Regions from separate parts of the Homo sapiens genome. Here regions 1, 3 and 4 are each linked to region 2. Evidence: promoter capture Hi-C in 16 types of primary human blood cells and fetal thymus (Javierre and others, 2016). All regions are on one chromosome and are shown on one strand. Each heading gives the region's core, a stretch centred on a gene start or on the middle of the fragment in contact. The rest is flanking DNA. Distances are from core to core; before and after follow the strand shown.

What was found. Contacts are between HindIII fragments. The CHiCAGO score rates a contact against its expected background, and 5 or more counts as called.
Region 1: a fragment that was not itself captured here is called in contact with the fragment with the promoter of SLC10A3 in region 2 in 1 of 17 cell types (monocytes); the score reaches 5.8 in monocytes.
Region 3: a fragment that was not itself captured here is called in contact with the fragment with the promoter of SLC10A3 in region 2 in 2 of 17 cell types (naive CD4 T cells and naive CD8 T cells); the score reaches 5.6 in naive CD4 T cells.
Region 4: a contact is called between a fragment that was not itself captured here and the fragment with the promoter of SLC10A3 in region 2, in 4 of 17 cell types (total B cells, activated CD4 T cells, monocytes and 1 more). The highest score is 7.7, in total B cells.

The regions. Positions count from the first base shown.
Region 1 is chrX:154,056,596-154,059,295 of GRCh38, forward strand. All of the region lies in intron 1 of MECP2 (methyl-CpG binding protein 2), which reads right to left. Among named protein-coding and RNA genes, the nearest start is that of MIR718, 38 kb to the left of the region's middle. The HindIII fragment of the contact is 851 bases long and covers 885-1,735 here.
Region 2 is chrX:154,489,192-154,491,891 of GRCh38, forward strand. It overlaps SLC10A3 (solute carrier family 10 member 3), which reads right to left and starts at 1,438. Exons shown (of 2, transcript NM_019848.5): 1 at 1,116-1,438. RefSeq lists a silencer at 1,161-1,670. The HindIII fragment of the contact is 4,164 bases long and covers 1-2,462 here.
Region 3 is chrX:154,039,335-154,042,034 of GRCh38, forward strand. The region is part of intron 1 of MECP2 (methyl-CpG binding protein 2); the gene reads right to left. Among named protein-coding and RNA genes, the nearest start is that of MIR718, 21 kb to the left of the region's middle. RefSeq lists an enhancer at 1,714-2,214. The HindIII fragment of the contact is 464 bases long and covers 1,019-1,482 here.
Region 4 is chrX:154,089,744-154,092,443 of GRCh38, forward strand. The region is part of intron 1 of MECP2 (methyl-CpG binding protein 2); the gene reads right to left. Among named protein-coding and RNA genes, the nearest start is that of MECP2, 6.6 kb to the right of the region's middle. The HindIII fragment of the contact is 6,480 bases long and covers 1-2,700 here.

The DNA of each region.
Region 1 (2,700 bases), core at 60-2,559, 430 kb before region 2:
AATGTATAAACTATAACATGAACAACTTTATGCTAGTCAGACAAAATGGACAAATTCCTAGAAAAAAAAATTTAACAGCTTACAGTAGCCCAAGCAGGTGCAGGGAAAATAAAAATAGGTTTAGATGTGTCTGCGTGTACATAGAACACCTCAAAAGACACAGACAAGACCCTGGATGCAGCCGTTCCCTGAAGAGAGGCCTAGGCAGCTGGGAGACCAGGGCAGCAGGGACACTCAGACCTTGCATCACTCTGGAGTTTGCACTTCCTGAATTGTGAAGCATGCACATGTCTCACTTATGCAACAGTGAATCCAAACGTGCCTGTATACAAGGAAAGGCCTCACCTGGCTGCGCCGTGGAGGCTGGCCTGGCGTGTGGAGCAGGCAGAACATTAGCAAGCTACCGAGCAGGTGCAGGTATGAACATCAGCTGACGCTGGCTCTTTGCTTTCTTTTTAATCTTGACAAATTTGGTAGGTGAAAAGGCATCATTTTTGTTCTCGTTTGCATCTCTTTGATTACCAGCAGGCAGAACTCTTTTCCTATCTTCATTGGCCATCTGTATCTCTTCTTTTATGAATTTCCTGTTCATAGTCTTTGTTCATTAGTGGTGACTAGTGGTAAGTTAGCAATAAGAACTGTTTGCATTCAAGTCTAGACTGAGAAGGAAATTAAAAAATCTGCCCATGTATTCTCACAATAAATGACTACTGACTAGCCTGAGATAATTGTACCCACTGCCCAGTCACAGGCATTAAGCCTAGGATGATTCATTTCAGACTTGTCCCTGACCTTCCTCATACCCTTTCCAGAAGGGCCCCTTGAGCTGCTATGATACTCCTAAATCACTATCCCATTACCCAAATGATGGAGAGCCAATCAAAAGCTTAGACCAGGACGCTTTCCCAAATTATGTCCCAATACCTTCACAATGATCACTTTATATACAATCTCACTGAATGCTCAGCAACACACGAGAGCAATGTTTAACTGAGGGCAACACTGAGGCTCAAGGAGGGCAAGTGACTTGATTGCTGAGGTCACCTGCTAGGTGCAAGAGCTGAGAATTAATCCCAAGGCTACCTGGCTCAAAAAGCCTAAGCTCATCTACTATACTTGAGGCGAAATCATGAAAGTGTGTTTTTACCTTGCCCAGACCCTGCACACTGCATCAAGGTCCTGAGTTTCAAGCAACAGAAATCAACTCTGGTTAAATTCAATCACAAAGGAGTTCTTGGGCAGCAGATCTGGAAATGGAGAGAGAACTAGAGAACTAGGCTCAGAAAAGCAGCAGGAATAGAGGCTGCACCACTGCAAACACAGCCAAGGTTATACTGCAGGGACCTGCTGGTTGGGACACCCACCCTGGGCACTGTTGCATGTCATCACTGGACATTAGCCACCACTGCTGGTTTTGTGACTCAACTGCCACCACCATGACTAATCCCTCACTGTCCCTCAAGAGTCAAAGTCCCTGAAGGCAGAATGGGTTTGGCCAAACCTAGGCTTCATCGCCATCCCCTAGTTTCCAGAGAGCAAGGGGAGGGAATATATCCATTCCCCTGTGGCAGGCACTGCCAGTTGTCCCCCAACATCCATGTTCTCCATCTGCCTTACTAATGAGACCCTGCGCTCAGCTAAGGAGAGTTATTCCCCGCTTCCCAGCAGACCATGGGACTACGTTATGGCTAAGGAGACAGTGGCCGAGTGCACTCCTGTTCATCGTTCTCTTTCAAGCTTGCTCTTGTTCTACTGACTATGGGCGGAGCACACCTCCCACCCACTGACTCTGGGCTTGCTCACGTGTTGATGGGATGGGGGAAGAAGAGGCTTTAAGAGGCTTCTGTGACTCTGCTCACTCCTCTTGGACTCCTGACCTCCGCCTACGAAGAGACTTCCCCTGGCAGCTGCTTCTCCCTCCTGGGTCCTGGAACGACAGGCTTGAGAACAGATCTGAATCCCATCTTGCAGCTGACCCAGACCCATGTGTGAGAAATAATAATTGCTGTTATAGCTACTGAGCTGCTGGTGCTGTTTGTTCCCTAGGACAAGATGATGGGTGTGAAGATGGAAATGGAAATATTGAATGGGCCTAGAAGTTAAGATGTCAAGTGCCATTTTGCCTTTCCCCTATGACCTCTTTCTTCCTACCTGGAGGAGTGGATGCAATGACTAGAGCAGCAACCGTCATCTCACAACCAAGAGGCAATCTTGAGAAATGGAAGACACCCACTGAGGGGCCCTGGGTCCTGGATCCTTACAAAGCCACTGCAGTGGTCATGGACAGCATGAGAAGGAAGTACACCACAGGCCCCCAACCCCATCTTCAGGTTTTCTTAGGTAGAAACTAGGGTCCACCTGCCTCTTACTAAGATATACACAATGGGGAGACTTTTAACACAAAAAAAGGTATGAAGATGGTCAGAAGCCAAAAAAGCAACAAAATGTTCATGATATGCCGTATGTGGGGTTTACTCACTACACTGCTTTTCCACCGAGTTAGCATAATCACTATAACTCAACCCATTGAAAAAATGACAAAACAGATTCTGAGATTCTCTTCCTATTTCTGTTAGCTAAAAAAGCAGCCTTTGAATTGTTTATAAGTGAATTCAAGAGATAAAAATAAACCCAGATAATTCAGAATGTACTGAGTACAACACATATGCCTTCTATGTGATAAGCTCCCAGCATTATTTA
Region 2 (2,700 bases), core at 188-2,687:
GAGCATGGGGATCTGGAAGCCCACTGCTAAGAGTAAAACTCAGCAGGGACCCTTGCCCCACACTCAGGAATGGAGAGGCAATGCCTAGTGATGGCCCTTGAGTGCCATTCAGCTGTGGCTCCCTGGCCCACTCTACCTGCCCCTACAGTGACTCGATGAAGGTCCTGCTGGGAAGCAGGTCCTCCCTCCCCAGGGAAGTTGCCAGAAGGGGCGGCAGGAGTGGATCAGACAGAGCCACATGTCTACTGGGGGGGTTTCTCCTCCTTTTGTCAGAGCTCCCACTGGGCTGAGACTTTGACCTCCCAGAGCCACTGCGTTACATCTGAGAGGCTGTGCTCAGAGTGCAGGGCTCCTTCCCATGCCCACATGCGCCCCTACCAGAGCCTCAAACTCAGTGGAATTATGAGTGTTTCTAGCGGCCAGCAACACCCCCTTCCACTTCTCAATCTGGGCAGCGACCACCGTAGTGTCACATCACCTGCTAGAACTGGGGCAACCAGGATGGAGACACAACAGCTTTACATCACCCCTGTCAGTTGCCTCATGCACTGTTGTGTCCCAGTCCTAGAAGAGGACTGCCTCTATAGATCCTATCCGTCTTTGGCATTGGCCTCCCGTCATCTGAGACTGGGGTGAGGCAGAAGTAGGGAGCAGAGGTTAGGTTAAGCCAAAGGCTCATCCCGGCGAGCCTCCCCTATCCCTAGCTTAGGATGACATGGCCTCTGCTGGCTTGAAGTTCGGGTCACTTACCCTGGAGGCCTTGGTCCAGCCATGTGTCTTACCTCTGAAGAGGGAGGCAGGAAAACCAGTGGGGTGGGAGAGGCAAAGTACAGGAGCTAAGATGAAGGCACCAGGACTGAAGCCACCGGGGTGATACAAACCAGCTCAGAAGGGAAAGGCTAGGGGCCATCCACCCCATGCCCCATCCCTCCAGTAGGGCTGGCGGCTCTGAGTCACTCCAAGAGGGGTTTGGCCCAGATCCCACACCATTTCTGCTTGAGGGGCCGACAGAGTTTGAGCAGATGCACCCACAAGGCAGGGGAGGGAGTCCCGGCCCTTCCAAAACGGCCAAGTGTTCGGGGTAACTGGCAGTGCTAACAGGGGCTCCTCCCTACCTGGGAGTCCGGAAGTTGTCGGACGGGTGGCTAGCAGAGCTCGGGCGCGAACCTGGGAGGGAGGAAAGGAAGGGCACGCCGCCGTCCCACAGCCGGCGACCCGCTCGGGCCGTCTCGGAGTCTGGGGGGGCCCCTTACGCCATTCCTGGGCCCCGCGGCCCCGCCAGGCCTCGCAAACGCGCGGCGGCGGCGGCGGCCCTTCCCTGCCAGGCCCGGCCGGGCGCCCGAGTGGGCGATCGCGGAGCAGGGTCGGGGCCAGAGGCCGCCTCCCTTCCGGAGGCTCTCACCTGCCACAGCCACCGCGCAGCTTAGCTGCAGCGTCTGCCTGGCCGGCAGTCGCCCGCGAGCTCGGCCTGTCAGGGCCCCGCCCCACCGAAGCCCCTCCCTTCCCCGCCCCGCGCGTCAGGGCCCCGCCCCCCCCTCAGCGTCCAGCTCAACTCCGGCTGCTCGCTGGGCTCCGACCGGTTGTGACGTCTCTGGGAGTGACGCGCCGGCGCGGGCGCGGTGCGGGTGAGCTGGTCGGCGCTTGGCGCTGCCTGGACCAATCGCTTGGCAGCGCATCTGAAGCTGTTGTGATCGCTGGGGCGACCCGCTCTGGGAGGGAGCCCCAGGCATTCCCGATTACGCTGCGACCTCTAAAGGCAATGGGACAGAGGGTTAGACGTTAGCAGGGCTGGGTGCCCGGGGTTAGGGTTTTGGCCACGTTGCCGCTCAAGGTGCCCAGCCCTGGGGCCCCAGGGTTGAGTTTGACCGACCTGGACGCCAGGCTCTGTGCGGAGTTCCTCCTTTCGTTCAAGTATTGACCGAGCGCCTATTTCTATTTTATGTATTTATTTTCTGAGACTGAGTCTTGCTCTGTCACCCAGCCCGGAGTGCAGTGGCGCGATCTCGGCTCACTGCAACCTCCGCCTCCCTGCAACCTCCGCCTCCCGGGTTCAATCCATTCTCCTCTCTAAGCCTCCCGCGTAGCTAAGATTACAGGCGTCCGCCCCCGCGCCCGGCTAATTTTTGTATTTTTAGTAGAGACGGGGTTTCACCATGTTGGCCAGGTAGGTCTCGAACTCCTGACCTCGTGAGCCACCCGCCTCGGCCTCGCAAAGTTCTGGGATTACAGGCGTGAGCCACTGCGCCCGGCGTAGGCCAGTTTCTATACTGTGGAACATTAAGTGGACTTGTCTGCTTTTCCAAACTTTGGCGCCACTAGCAAGGTGCAGAGGCTTTGTGGTAAAGGAAGAGAAAGAAGGCAGAAAGTTGGGGAAAAATATGATGGGAATGTGTAGAAAGAAGGTCGGAAGGCAGTACAGAAGACAGTACAGAGTTGGGGGGGGGGGGATCATATGTTCCCAAAGCTTATTGGTGCAACTGGAATCAATCTGCACACTTCAACCTCTTGTCAAGACTGTGATGGAGTCGGAGGTATTTGCCCCGGGTAGGTGCACAAGACGCATGGTTGCAGATGTGGAAACAGAACAGAACAAAACCACCCACGTCTCTAATGTTTCAAATGAATGATATACATTTGTTTTTATTACTTATTTATTTATTTTTGAGACAGGGTCTCGCTCTGTCGCCTAGGCTGGAGTGC
Region 3 (2,700 bases), core at 1-2,500, 450 kb before region 2:
ACCGGGCGCAGTGGCTCATGCCTGTAATCCCAACACCTTAGGAGGCCGAGGTGAGCAGATCACTTGAGGCCAGGAGTTTAAGACCAGCCTGGCCAACATGGCAAAACTCCGCCTCTACTAAAAATACAAAATATTTGCCGGGTGTGGTGGTGTGCGCCTGTGGTCCCAGCTACTCGGGGACTGAGGCATGAGAATCGCTTGAACCTGGGAGGCGGAGGCTGCAGTGAGTTGAGATAGTGCCATTGCACTCCAGACCAGGCGATAGAACAAGATTCCACTTCCCAAAAAAAAAAAAAAAAAGATGGCACTTCTGAGACACCTTCCCTGCTCCTGCCTCCCTCCCTGCTCTATGAGCCAGGGCACCCGAGCCCTCAGTGTACTTAGAACACCCCACTGTGCGTGCCAACCCCCATCTCCCCGCTCAATGCATAATGCCAGGCACAGGTGCAACCCTTACTCAACACATGCTGGATGAATAACCACAACACGGACGCAGCGCTCCACGTGCTTCTTCTGATGGCTGGAGACCTTCGACCGTAAGCTTCTAGCAAGGAGAGGCTAGCTCAGTGCTGAAAAAAAGGTGGGCTCTGAATTGGTGAATAAACAAATGATGAGTTTGGGACATATCAGTAGTCCGTTGGACACTGGTGGCTTGGAGATGGCGGAAGATGAGGTGGAGGAAGTCACTGAGGAGGGCCTCAGTGCCCCAGGGACAGTAGCATGGAGGATGGTTACGCCAGAGGATGGATCGACTTCTAGCCATGTGGTGGTCAGGTATGCAGACACCTCTCCTGCTGAAACAACTACAACTGCCAAACTGAGTATCTTACAGAAGCTGCTAGAGAAGCCACCCACAAGCTGGCAAGAAAGGAAGGAATACACAGGCTGAAGAGCAAATAAAAGTACGGGGCCCTTTTCTGTGGAGAAATCTGGCAGGCACCACCTTAACACACGACCAAACTGAGCTCAGGCCCCTCAGTGCTGCTGAGATGAACCAGCATCACGAGTAGGAGACTGAAGCTTACCGTGAGGAGACAGCAGGAAGAGTCCAGAGAGGGCGTGCCATGCAACCACGGTCTGGACTCAAGATGATGAGAGAAAACAAGGGGGTGGGGGAACATTTCTGATAAAGGAGACTGAAGGGATGACACAATCGAATACAACACACAGTCCTGGACTCTGCATTCCAGGCTCAAAGGCTCTAAAAAAGGCATTTATGGGGTATGTGGAGAAATGTAAGGTTCTGTGTTAGCTCATTGCTAAACTTCCTGAGTGTCTTAACTGTACTGTCTGCTCTTAGGAAAGGCATGCTTAAACGTTTAGGAGTGAAACAGCACGAGGACTATGACTAACTCTCAAGTGATCAATGGGCTAGGGGAAATACAGTGCCAATATGGTAACATGTTTAAAAGAAGGGAGATGACATCAATATAATCAGAAGCTATGCCAACTGACAGTAATATTTTGAAGCAGTGGTAGGCAAGCTTTTTAACAATTAAAGAGAATGCCTTCATATTACACAAAGACATTAAGAAAAAAAGCTGAAGGCTGGGCACGGAGGCTCACACCTGTAATCCCAGCACTTTGGGAGGCTGAGGTGGGCGGATCACGAGGTCAGTTCGAGGCCATCCTGACCAACATGGTGAAACCCCCTCTCTACTAAAAATAAAAAATTAGCCAGGTGTGGTGGCGCGCACAAAGGGACCGGGGCGGTGCTGGCGGCGATGCCAACAGACCTCAGTGTACTGTGGGGTTCTTTCAGCCAGAACTGTTCATGGTTTCATCAGTGAGCTCCAGTTACCACACCACACAAGTTTGGAGTGATCCACCCCGCCCCAGTTTTTCCTGCACGAACTCATGTTTTTATTGTGTGATTTACAGAACACAAGATCTTTTTCTAAGAATGCACACATCACACGTTGAAGCAGAAAGGCCTTTACAAAATCTTAAAATACCTACAAAATATGAAGTAAGGCTCTTAAGAAATAAAATATTCAATGATTTTGCTGCTAGAATGCAAACATTAGATCAAATCCTTCATTTGATCTAGCAAAGGAAAATTAGAGTTGCAGGAATCTTGTTTTCAGGCCAAACCATGACATCCTGAGGGGTCTGATGGCAGGAACTGCCTGCATTTTCCTCATGAATGTGACCTGCAGTGATCTTGTGAGAAAGGCCCGGAAGGCCGTGCAAATTACAGGGGTACAAGCAACAGCTGGCAGGTGTGGCCAGACAGGCAACTGCAGTTAAGGAAAGACTACTCAATCCCTGAGGTTTTCAGATTTTACAAAAAGGCAAAAAAGCCAGGTGAACAAGGCAGATGAAAGGTATTTTTCACTTGAATTGGAATCCAGCCCCCTCCCTGTCCCCTGGAGTGAGCTCCAGAGAAACTTCCAGAGCCCCAGCAATATCCCAACCTTTCGTAAATTCACTCATGCTCGCCACTTTCAGGAGATGGCATTTCTCAGCACCTTTCACTTCCAGTTATCCCTCGGCACAGCACAAAGAGCTAAACTACCACTCGAGGCAGTTAACCTAAGGGCAGGGTGGTGGCTACAGCTCCAGGTGAACAGTCTGGGACCAGAGGAAATAATGAGCCCCCCCTTGTACTGGCTGCTTCCACCCTAAAGTGTCATCCAGATGGTGTTTCCAATTCTTTCTACTTCCAGTATTAGCTGCAGAATTACGGAATCAAGGAGG
Region 4 (2,700 bases), core at 11-2,510, 400 kb before region 2:
GTGGATCGCCTGAGGTCAGGAGTTCGACACCAGCCTGGCCAACATGGTGAAACCCATCTCTACTAAAAATACAAAAATTAGCTGGGTGTGGTGGCAGGCGCCTGTAATCCCAGCTACTCAGGAGGCTGAGGCAGGAGAATCACTTGAACCCAGGAGGTGGAGGTTGCAGTGAGCCAAGATTGTGCCACTGTACTCCAGCCTGGATGACAGAGCAAGACTCCATCTCAAAAAAAGAAAAAACAAAACAAAACAAAAACCCTCCTGTTAATTACAACACAAAAAGTACACAGTTTAGTCTTAGAAGACTTAGAAGGATCTACATTAAGCTATTAACAGCAGTTATTCTGGGTAGTGGGAGCAGAGATTAAGCGGGGAGCTTTCATTTTTTTACCTGATACTTTTTTTTTTTTTTTTTTTTGAGACCGAGTCTCACTCTGTCACCCAGGCAGGAGTTCAGTGGTGTGATCTTGGCTCACTGCAACCTCCGCCTCCCAGGTTCAAGTGATTCTCCTGCCTCAGCCTTCCGAGTAGCTGGGACTACACGCTCAAGCCACCATGGCCAGCTAATTTTTGTATTTTTAATAGAGATGGGGTTTCGCCGTGTTAGCCAGGCTGGTCTCGAACTCCTGACTTCAGGTGATCCACCCGCCTAGGCCTCCCAAAGCGCTGTGATTACAGGCATGAGCCACCTTGCCCAGCCACCTGATCAATTTTTAAGTGGTTTGATTTTTCTATAAATCCATGTATTATTTTAGTAATTCTTTAAAAAGTAAAAGAAGAAAAATAGATATCAAGCATTTATCTACTAAAGACGGGTACTGTCCTTTGAGAATTCCCTCAAAAGTTCTTTGAAGCTCAAATGGCTACATCTTTCCCATTCATAAGATACTTTTTAAATTTCCTCTTTCTACATTTCTTTTTAAAAGTTTATTTTCAATTAGCTTCCTCAGGTTGAACTCTCTGTACATTTCTTAGGAGAAACTGTATGGTGTCAACACTGCCTGTTTTATAACATCCATTCGTAATCTGTAATCTGAGAAAAAGACTCGTAAAAACCCAAACCACCCTCCAGGCCTAACATCTTCCAGAAGAAACCCATTCACTGCCCATATTACATTTAGTCCACACAATTTCTGAGACAAAGCACAAAGCACTAGCCATACAACTCCCACCAGCATAAATACGTGGAGTACAAAGAATGTCCTGTCAGCTGGGCCCAGAGCACACCCCACAGCAGTAAAAGAGAATGACAATTTGAGTCACAGGATCAGGAGCAGAATCAAATTTGGGACTTGAGGCAGTGTGATGCTCTTCTGGTCTTCCGCTTCCTTCCACACCTTCTATTCTCCTTCAGCCAAACCTTGCCCTCACATAATCCCTAAGCAGGCTATTTCTTATGGATGTCTACAACAGCTTCACACTGAGGTGTCAGAAACCACTAGAGAGACAACAAAGAACGACTTAGGGTCTCAGTCGGAATCACAATGGCCGCATAAGTGAAAACTCACATTTTTGCTTAGGGGAAAAAAAATGGGAAAATTCAATTGGAACATTCTGCTTTACCACACAGAAGTTCTGAAATCCACATGTCAAAACATCAAATGCGGAGTGACCACTAATCAAAAAGACAAAACAAAACAACAACAACAACAACAACAACAAACAGCTTGAGATGTTGAGCCTGAAGGTTGAGAAATTAAGGAACCATTCATTTTTACAAAACTAAAGTCCACACAATGGTGCCAAGTAGTTCAAACTGCAGCTGATACAGCACCTGAGTGTCAGACCTAGAATGACTGGGGCCCCCAGGTTTTTACAAAGTACTCATCCTCCTCTAGAGTCCCAAGAACCAGATGTATATCTGGGTACTCTCTTTAGTTACCATGGGAGGAGTGTAGCAAGCACATGACATTAGCCATGGCCCCCGGTGTTCTGAGACAGCTTTCAGGAGGGTGTCCTTCTAGGGAACCAACCACATACCAGTTCCCATATCTGAAAATGCATTACCACTGCTCACTAATGTTGACCACTAAGCCATTTACCCCAAACCAAAGCAAACACATGCTGAAGACCGCTAAGGCAACAGCAGCAGCGCAAAAGGGCTCAGTGCAAGCGCTCTCAGCTCAGCTGACCTGCTTCAAGGTGAACTGAAGTTGCAGATCACCAGTTCCGGCTCTAATCTGACGCCCGCCCCCAGATCACGCTGTGGCGACCAAGTAACCCTACACACACTGACCTTTCAGGGCTCAGGGAAGTGACTTTTTTTTATTATATGGCACAGTTTGGCACAGTTATGTCTTTAGTCTTTGGGGTACTTTTATACTGTCCAAGAGTAGTATATTTTTTTCCTCTTTTCCTTTTTTTTTTTTTTTTAAAAAAAAAAAAAACAGATGGCCAAACCAGGACATATACTAAAAAAAAAAAAAGGAAGGTTACTTACCTGAGCCCTAACATCCCAGCTACCATGGAATCCTGTTGGAGCTGGTCTACAGAAGCAAGGTGTATTCTGGGGAGTCACATGTCACATCAAAGCAGGAACTGGTGAGTCTGTATTTTTATGGAGCCTAAAACAAAGAAAATTGTAAGTTGAAAGCCCCCATTGAGCTGCACGACCTTTTTCCCAGGGCTATTTGGGACATTTTGAAGATAAACACATAGACAAAGTACTAGGCTATTTCCCAGCTTACCTAGCTAGAAACA